Regions from separate parts of the Homo sapiens genome. Here region 1 is linked to region 2. The links are contacts of gene promoters, found by promoter capture Hi-C in human tissues and cell types (Jung and others, 2019). All regions are on one chromosome and are shown on one strand. Each heading gives the region's core, a stretch centred on a gene start or on the middle of the fragment in contact. The rest is flanking DNA. Distances are from core to core; before and after follow the strand shown. Region 1 overlaps NUMB (NUMB endocytic adaptor protein). Region 2 holds the start of HEATR4 (HEAT repeat containing 4).

The links. The method cuts DNA at HindIII sites, captures the fragments that hold promoters and counts their contacts. A contact is called where the count stands out against the background at its distance.
Region 1: a contact is called between a fragment that was not itself captured here and the fragment with the promoter of HEATR4 in region 2, in 1 of the 25 tissues and cell types used here (mesenchymal stem cells).

Annotation. Positions count from the first base shown.
Region 1 is chr14:73,291,715-73,296,318 of GRCh38, reverse strand. It overlaps NUMB (NUMB endocytic adaptor protein), which reads left to right. Exons shown (of 13, transcript NM_001005743.2): 8 at 3,445-3,585. Among named protein-coding and RNA genes, the nearest start is that of PAPLN-AS1, 48 kb to the right of the region's middle. The HindIII fragment of the contact is 3,425 bases long and covers 1-3,065 here.
Region 2 is chr14:73,556,450-73,560,561 of GRCh38, reverse strand. HEATR4 (HEAT repeat containing 4) reads left to right here and starts at 1,615. Exons shown (of 18, transcript NM_001220484.1): 1 at 1,615-1,811. RefSeq lists an enhancer at 614-783. The HindIII fragment of the contact is 20,630 bases long and covers 1-4,112 here.

The DNA.
Region 1 (4,604 bases), core at 104-2,603, 260 kb after region 2:
AACACAGACCACCATGCCCCGCTAATTTTTGTATTTTTGGTACAGATGAGGTTTCACCATGTTGGTCAGGCTGGTCTTGAACTTCCGACCTCAAGTGATCCACCCGCCTTGGCCTCCCAAAGTGCTGGGATTACAGGCATGAGCCACCGCTCGTGGCCTATTTTTGTTCTTATATATTTTTTAATAAGTTTCCACTCTCACAAATTTGATACAATAGATGATAGACTATCCTTTTACCATGTTTTAAAATTAAAAAAAGATGGACTCCACATCTGAAATTTCTTCTTGCTCTGAAGAAAACACTATTTTAAGAAAATGATATTTGAACTAATTAACCTGGCTTTTGACTCAAAACTCAATTTAAGTGACATCTTAAGGACTAGTGAATGGCTCTTTGGTTAACATTTACTTAGAATCCAAATAATATCTCAAATCATAGGTACCATTTTGCATTTGAGAGACAGTGATCCTAAATGCCTAAATAAGAATAGACACACAGCTCTACCCCTAGAAAGCATAGGGTGTTATATAAGTACATTTAATTGTTAATTAAAATTTCCTAGAATACCTAAAGTCAGGAAGAAATTTAACAAGAAGATAATTAAAAAAAAAAAATTCAAATGCCACTGAAAGGGGAGAAAGTCTGGCAGGTAAAAAGCAGTTTTGATAGGCAACTTGCCTGGTAAATTTCAAGTGGTTTAATATAGCTGCATTTTAGTTATTTGACCTTATTACATTGCATACTTTTTTTTAAGTTCAAGAGAAGCAATAGTCTTCACTTTTAGTACATTACTGTTGGAAACAGTGATCATTTTAATTATTTTTTGGAACTTGTGTAGTTTTCATTAGTGTTTGGATGAAATTTGTTATACTTGAAAGCTATGTATTTAATTGTTTTATACAATAGTTGGAAAGTGATATTGCCCCCTTGTGGCTACTTACACCACTGGCATTCATTAGTTTAGTTTTTTCCACACTGAATAGTAGTAATTAGTAGTCATTGGTGGCTTGTCACCATTGGGACCATCTTCCCACCTTGTATTTCACTATAAGCGGGAACTAATACCATGTTGGGATCAGTATTGGTGATAACACCATGCCATGATCTGCACAAATTTTTATGAAACAGAAGCTGAAATCTGAAGCCCTTAACCTTTGAGCAAGAAGCTCTGTCAGATTGCCTTGCTATCCCACCTCTCAACTCATGTCTATCTTGATTCTGATAGTGTTCCTACCTTTTTTTTTTTTTTTTTTTTTTTGAGACAGTGCCTTATACTGTCACCCAGGCTGGAGTACAGTGGCACAGACATAGTTCACTGCAGCCTCAGCCTCCTAGGCTGAGATAATTTTTTTTTTTTTTTTTTTTTTAGAGATGGGTTCTCACTATGTTGCCCAAGCTGGTTTCGAACCCCTGGGCTCAAGCAGTCCTTCCACCTCGGCGTCCCAAAGTGCAGAAGACAGAATTTGAGGCAACAGTAGCCACTAGAAGGTAAAAAGAGAGGCTGGGCGTGGTGGCTCACACCTGTAATCCCAGCACTTTGGGAGGCCAAGGCGGGTGGATCACTTGAGTCCAGTAGTTTGAGACCATCCTGGCCAACATGCTGAAACCCTGTCTCTCCTAAAAATACAAAAAATTCGCTGGGCATGGTGGTGCGTGCCTATGGTTCCAGCTACTTGGGAGGCTGAGGCATGAGAGTCACTTGAACCTAGGAGGCAGAGGTTGCAGTAAGCTGAGATTGCATCATTGCACTCCAGCAGCCTGGGCGACAGAGCAAGACTATCTCAAAAAAAGAAAGTAAAAAGAGAATCCTGGAAATGAGTAAGCCAAAAAGGAGTAGTCCCAAATTCTGTTCATAAATTCTGCCCAAATCTCTGACCCTTTTAGCCATGTAGATTCAAGGCAGACTCCAAATAGCCCAACTAAGGATATAAAAACTGATATTTGATTACCTACGTATGGTGACATGCACCTGTAGTCCTAGCTCCTCGGGAGGCTGAGGCGGGAGGATGCTTGAGCCCTGGAGTTGAGGTTACAGTGAGCAGTGATTGCGCCACTGCACTCCAGCCTGGATGACGGAGCAAGACAGTCTCAAAAAAAGAACAAAAACGCCCTGATGTCTGAGGTGCTGTTCAAAAGATAAGAGTTTTCCATTTGAGTATAATCAAATTAGCTACCTGATAAAACCAAAAATATGACACTTCCAAGGAATGTAACGGAATCCATTCTTTCCACATACAACATTCACAATGACTACAATGCAGTTACTCAGCATACAACAAAACAGACAAGTCTGACTTATTCTCATCAAAATAACAATCAATAAAGACCTAACTTCAAGATGACTCAGATGTTGGAATTAGCAGACAGATTTTAAATGCCCGCCTTCACTATTTGACCAAGAAATAAATGTCTCTTGTATTTGAGTCATTGTATTGTTTTGTGTTTATAGCATCACCACAACTAGTACAGAAAATGGTACACTGAAGTAGACTGCTACCTTAACAGAAATGAAAACAGTGTATAGAAGGCATTATAACTATACTCAGTGACAGAAAGGAAATATGTTCATGTTGAATGAAGAGATAGAAATCTTGGCAGAGAATAGAAACTATGAAAAAGAAACAAATGGCTGGGCACGGTGGCTCGTGCCTGTAATCCCAGCACTTTGGGAGGCCAAGGCAGGTGGATCATGAGGTCAGGAGATTGAGACCGTCCTGGCTAACACAGTGAAACCTGTCTCTACTAAAAATACAAAAAAATTAGCCGGGCGTGGTGGCACACGCCTGTAGTCCCAGCTGCTTGGGAGGCTGAGGCAGGAGAATTGCTTGAACCCGGGAGGCAGAGGTTGCAGTGAGCCAAGATCGCGCCACTGCACTCCAGCCTGGGTGACAGAGTGAGACTGTCCAAAAAAAAAAAAAAAAAAAGAAAAAGAAACGAGTGGAAATTCCACACCTGAAAAATACAGTATCTGAAGTAACTTCACTGGATCGGGTATATATAATGTAAAAAAGCAAGGTGCAGAACTGTGTGTATGTGTGTGTAGTGTTCATTGTGTAACGAAGTTAGCATAAACATGACTATTATATGTATTTGCTTATATTTGGGAATAAACCCAAAGGATTTTTTTTTTATCCAAAGGATTAAAGATACTGATTTACATATATTGTTGAATGTGGAATCTACCATGAAAGAGATGTAAAACTAGAATCAACAAGCATATGCTTTAGAACATGTAGTTGAGAGAGGTATCTGGGCAAAGTGCCTCTTGGGATGTCTGCTGAGTCCAATTCTCAGTATTTAAACTGCTGGACACAGATCTAGGTATTCCATAGCCTAGTTGTATCAGATGTATGGATTGTGCATCATGAAATGAACATCCTGTGTTCTGAGAAGCTCAGATAACCTCATAAGTCTTCTCTTTCTTTGTGTGTCGTATTTTCTAGGACCTCATAGTTGACCAGACGATAGAGAAAGTTTCTTTCTGTGCCCCAGACAGGAACTTTGATAGAGCCTTTTCTTACATATGCCGTGATGGCACCACTCGTCGCTGGATCTGTCACTGCTTCATGGCTGTCAAGGACACAGTGAGTCCAGCAAATATGTATTTCATGATGAGTATTCTCAGTTAGCTGGGCTCTTTCTGGGTTTGCTCAGCCAAGCGGTTTCTACTACATTTTTAACAAGTACTTGGAAGTGCCTAAACTAGCCTACTTTCAGCTCCTTTTATTCAAATAGTTCACACTCTTGATGTAACCCCAGGAGTTGCAACTCACTGAACAAAATGATTGGCTGAAACCAAAGATCATTAAAGGAAGGTAAAAATGGTCTGGTGATAGTGGTTGCTAAACTTTATTTGAAACTTTTAATTATTGGAAGTATTTTCAGGGTTCTTAAATGTATTTGTTGGCTAACATATATGAGTATGGTATTAAAAATGTATTTGCATAGAGACTACTACAAATGAAAGAAGTTGGCTGGGCCTGATGGCTCACCCCTATAATCCCAGCACTTTGGCCAGGGCAGGAAGATCACTTGAGACCACAAGTTGGAAACTAACCTGGGTTACATGGCAAGACCTCATCTTTACAAAGTTAAAGAAAAAATTAGCCAGGCATGGTGGCACATGCATGTAGTCCTAGCTACATTCTACATGCCTTGGGAGGCTGAGGCGAGCAGAACACTTGAGCGTAGGTGTTGGAGGCTACAGTGAGTCATCGTGCCATTACACTCCAGCCTGGGTGACAGAGTGAGACCTTGTCTCCAAAAACAGAACAAAACAAAAAAACAAAACTGAGTTGGAGTATACTTTCAACTATTATAAAAACAGAAATACCGGCCAGGCACGGTGGTTCACACCTGTAATCCCAGCACTTTAGGAGGCCGAGGCAGGCGGATCACGAGGTCAGGAGTTCAAGACCAGCCTGGCCAATATGGTGAAACCCCGTCTCTACTAAAAATACAAAAAAATTAGCTGGGCGTGGTGGTGCATGCCTGTAGTCCCAGCTACTCGGGAGGCTGAGGCAGAAGAATCGCTTGAACCCAGGAGGTAGAGGTTGCAGTGAGCTGAGATTTGTGCCACTGACTCCATCCTGGGTGACAGAGC
Region 2 (4,112 bases), core at 366-2,865:
GCCTCCAAGTAGCTGGGACTACAGGCGCCTGCCACCACGCCTGGCTAATTTTTTTGTATTTTTAGTAGAGATGGGGTTTCACCGTGTTACCCAGGATGGTTTAAATCTCCTGACCTCGTGATCCGCCCAACTTGCCTCCCAAAGTGCTGGGATTATGGGCGTGAGCCACAGCGCCTGGCTCAGTCTTTACTTTTCATAACAGAAAACGTACCCTCTGCTTTTTATGGGGGTCTAACCATCTGAGTGCAGCTTGAGCTCAAGTGCTAAAGTCCATATTCAGGTTGGTCAGCAGCAGCAGTCTTGCTTGGAACCAAGAGATGGACCACCTGAATAGCATGACCTGGGTCAACGAGACAGAGCCTTAGGCCCAGAAATCTTTCCTGCTGTCAGGATAAATTAGTTTGTTTCACAAAGGGACTCTTGAAGATCAGAATTTCTGTATCTGTAAGACTTCTATGACTTAAAGAATTTCTGTACGTGTGAAATTATACTATTAGAAATACAAGATTGAAGAGTCTCCTTGTAAAAGCTAGTGTTAATGGCTAATAATCTAGCCAGGATTTAGAGATCAGGGAAAATGGGATTGAACTGTGTGGGCAAAGGAGATTAAGTAGCAGTGGAGGAGCTGAAAGGGGAATGGAAAAGTCGACGGACAGCTTCTACTTTACCATCTGTTTTATCAGCCTGGTAATCTGACGCCTGCCAGAACTATGTGGTCATGTGTTCCCTGCTTTGCCTCTTTCTCAGGATTTATAAACCCTTGTGGTGGGAGAATATGGAGCTGCATATATCTAGAGGGTTTTTTTATTTTTATCTTTTGAGACTGCACTTCACTCTTGCTGCCCAGGCTGGAGTGCAATGGCCTGATCTTGGCTCACTGCAACCTCTGCTTCCTGGGTCCAAGCGATTCTCCTGCCTCAGCCTCCCGAGTAGCTGGGATTACAGGCATGCGCCACCAGGCCCAGGTGATTTTCTTTTTAAATTTTCTATTTTTAGTAGAGATGGGGTTTCACCATGTTGGTCAGGCTGGTCTCTAACTCCTGACCTCAGGTGATCCGCCACCTCAGCCTCCCAAAGCGCTGAAATTGCAGGCGTGAGCCATCGCGCCTGGCTGAGGTTTATTTTTCAAAGAATGACCAAGAGGCTAGGTGTGGTGGCTCACAGTTGCAAATCCCAGCACTTTGGGAGGCCAAGGCGGACACATCACTTGAGGTCAGGAGTTTGAGAACAGCCTGTCCAACATGGTGAAACCCCATCTCTACTAAAAGTACAATTAGTGGGGCATGGTGGTGTGGCCTGTAATGGGAGGCTGAGACAGGAGAATTGCTTGAACCTGGGAGGCACAGGTTGCAGTGAGCCGAGATCGCACCACTGCACTCCAGCCTAGGCAACTGAGTGAGACTGTCTCAAAAAAGAAAAAAGACCAAAAACTCCATGAAACTACCATTCAATAAATAATCAATAAATAAGATGCAATTTCTCAAAGCTCAGTTTACAAAGAAGGAAATTTAATAAATGGTTGAAGATATACCCCCGACTGAACCCACAAGTTCTCTGAGTAGACTCATGGAATTCTAAAGAGTTGGTTGCTTGGAGACTGATAGAAACAGCTTTGGAACCTAAGAAACCAAGGAAGGCTTAAGATGCAGAACCTTGCTTCTCTCTGAGGACTGCCTTTTAGGAGGCCATTTGGAAAGTAATTTTGAAACACTGCTCCTTTGCCAGTATCTGAAAGGTGCTGGATGGTGTCAGCTGGAAGATGAGGGGCAACCTGAGGTAGCTGAAAAAACTTTGGATTAGGTGTCAAAAGGGTCAGTACTACTTTAGATACCAAGCAGTATGGTGATCTTAATGATTTCTCTTCTCTCTGGGCCCCAGTTTTGGGATTTATAAAATCAGGACATTAGGCCTGGTGCAGTGGCTCATGCCTGTATTCCCAGCATTTTGGGAGGCCAAGGTGGGAGGACTGTTTGAGTCCAGGAGTTCAAGACCAGCCTGAGCAACATAGTGAGACTCTATCTCTACAAAAAAAAAAAAAAAAAAAAAAATTTAACCGAGAGTGGTGTGCTATGTGCCTATGCTCCCAGCTATGTGGGAGGATTGCTTGAGCCCAGGAGGTCAAGGCTGCAGTGAGTCATGATCACGCCACTGTACTCCAGGAGAGTGAGACCCTGTCTCAAAAAAAAAAAAACAAATCAAGGCATTAGACCAGGTCATCTTTATAGCAGAGTTTCCAGAGTAATCTCTGGAGATAGCTGTATAGCTGTGTGAGTGCATGGTAAAAAATTAGAAAGTAGAGGGGAAAAAATGAGGGGAACTTTTTGAGGGCAAAAAGGGAGAAAGGGGGACTTGAAACAAGCCAGGTTAAGCAGCTGTTCCCTAATCCCACTCTCCCCACTAACCAGGCTTCCTTCATACACCCCACTGACACCCTTTGGGCTGTGCTTTCTTTAAATGTATTGTGTATTAAACCTGAGAGCTTGTGAAAATGCAGATTTCTAGGCCTCACTTGCAGGCTACTGAATCAGCATTCTGGGAGTAGGACACAAGAGTCTGATGTAAAAGGTTCTTTACCCATATCTATTCCAGGCATAGTCCCAGCATTTCTGGAGGCCAAGGCAGGAAGATCACTTGATTCCAGGAGTTTGAAACCAGCCTGGACAACATAGTAAGACCCTGTCTCTACAAAAAAAAGTTTTAAAACATTAGCCAGGCATGGTGGTGCACACCTGTGGTCCCAGCTACTGGGGACGCTGAGGCAGGAGGATTGCTTGAGCCTGGGAGGCAAGGCTGCAGTGAGCCATGACTGTGCCACCGCACTCCAGCTTGGGTGACAGAGTGAGGCCCTGTCTCAAACATAAATAAATAAACAAAAAACTGTATCTAACAAACACCACCCCAGAAGCTGACTGCACACTCTTGGACTCCACCTCAGAACTTCAGAATCCAAATCTGTTGGTAGAGATGAGAGTATTATTTTTTTAAAGCTTTCAGAAGATACTGATACTAAGGCTTATTGCTTTTTAGTCTTTTCTTTCAAGGCAGTTTCCTCTATTTTAATAACAAGGGAGAATGCAAGATATTACTCCTTTTAGCACATGTTACTCAACCTACTTTGACCACTTGTACAGGATAAAGGTATCAGACCAGAGGGTGAGGGTAAGCGACTGATAAGCAAACAGAAAAGTGGAACTAAATTTGGAATCTCTGAGATACTACCCAGTTTGAGTTGAGTTCTGTATTCATAAAATATTAGAGGCAGGAGAGGAATTTAGTCCAACTCCTACGTTTTCCAGCTGGGGATCTAGGAAGTTCATCAGGTTTTAACTAGAGGCATGTGGCCTAACCCTTCCAACCCCATTCCTCCCCTTCTAGCCCAAGTTCCTAGAAATGCAGATAATGCTGGTGGGTTGCTCATTCCAGGGCCTGGTCTGCAGTTATGCCAGGATTGACTTAGTCAATTTTTTATGCTGTCTATGTACAAAAGGACCCCGGACCTGCCACTCTGCTTTTGGTTCTAGAGGGCTATTTGTTGGGAGTGGGGTGCTGCCTCATAATGCTGGTCACGTAATGTGTAAGTTTCGATAATAAGGAGCCTCCAAACTCCATTAATAAGTCCTTTCTTTCTTCTCTAAGCACCCTCTCTTTTAATTGCTGAGTACCCCATAGCCCTAAATTCTTCCCGAAGCGCCCAGTGCATCTAACTGTAGGACCCAGAGACTTGCCTTCTAAGGACAACAGTCCATCCTCTAAACTAATAATAACAATTCCTCACACATATATTTTAGTTTGCAAAGAACTTTCATACGTTTCTAATTTTGAGGTTCATATCAATCAACACTAAATTAGAACAGGTATCAGACTCAATTTTCAGATTGGGAAACTACAGATTTCAAATTATTTGCCCAAGGTAACATGACTGGGAAGTGCACAATTTGGCCTTACACCTGTCCCGTGACTCCAAGACAGACAAAGACAAGCCAGAACAAGCCTCTTTTGATCAGACCTTGTGTAACATTTTGTTCTGTCCCCATTCCTTTTCAAAACAGACCTATCATGTGTTCCCTTCCTTCTTAATAAGCCATCATATCGGATGATAATAACTATTCCTT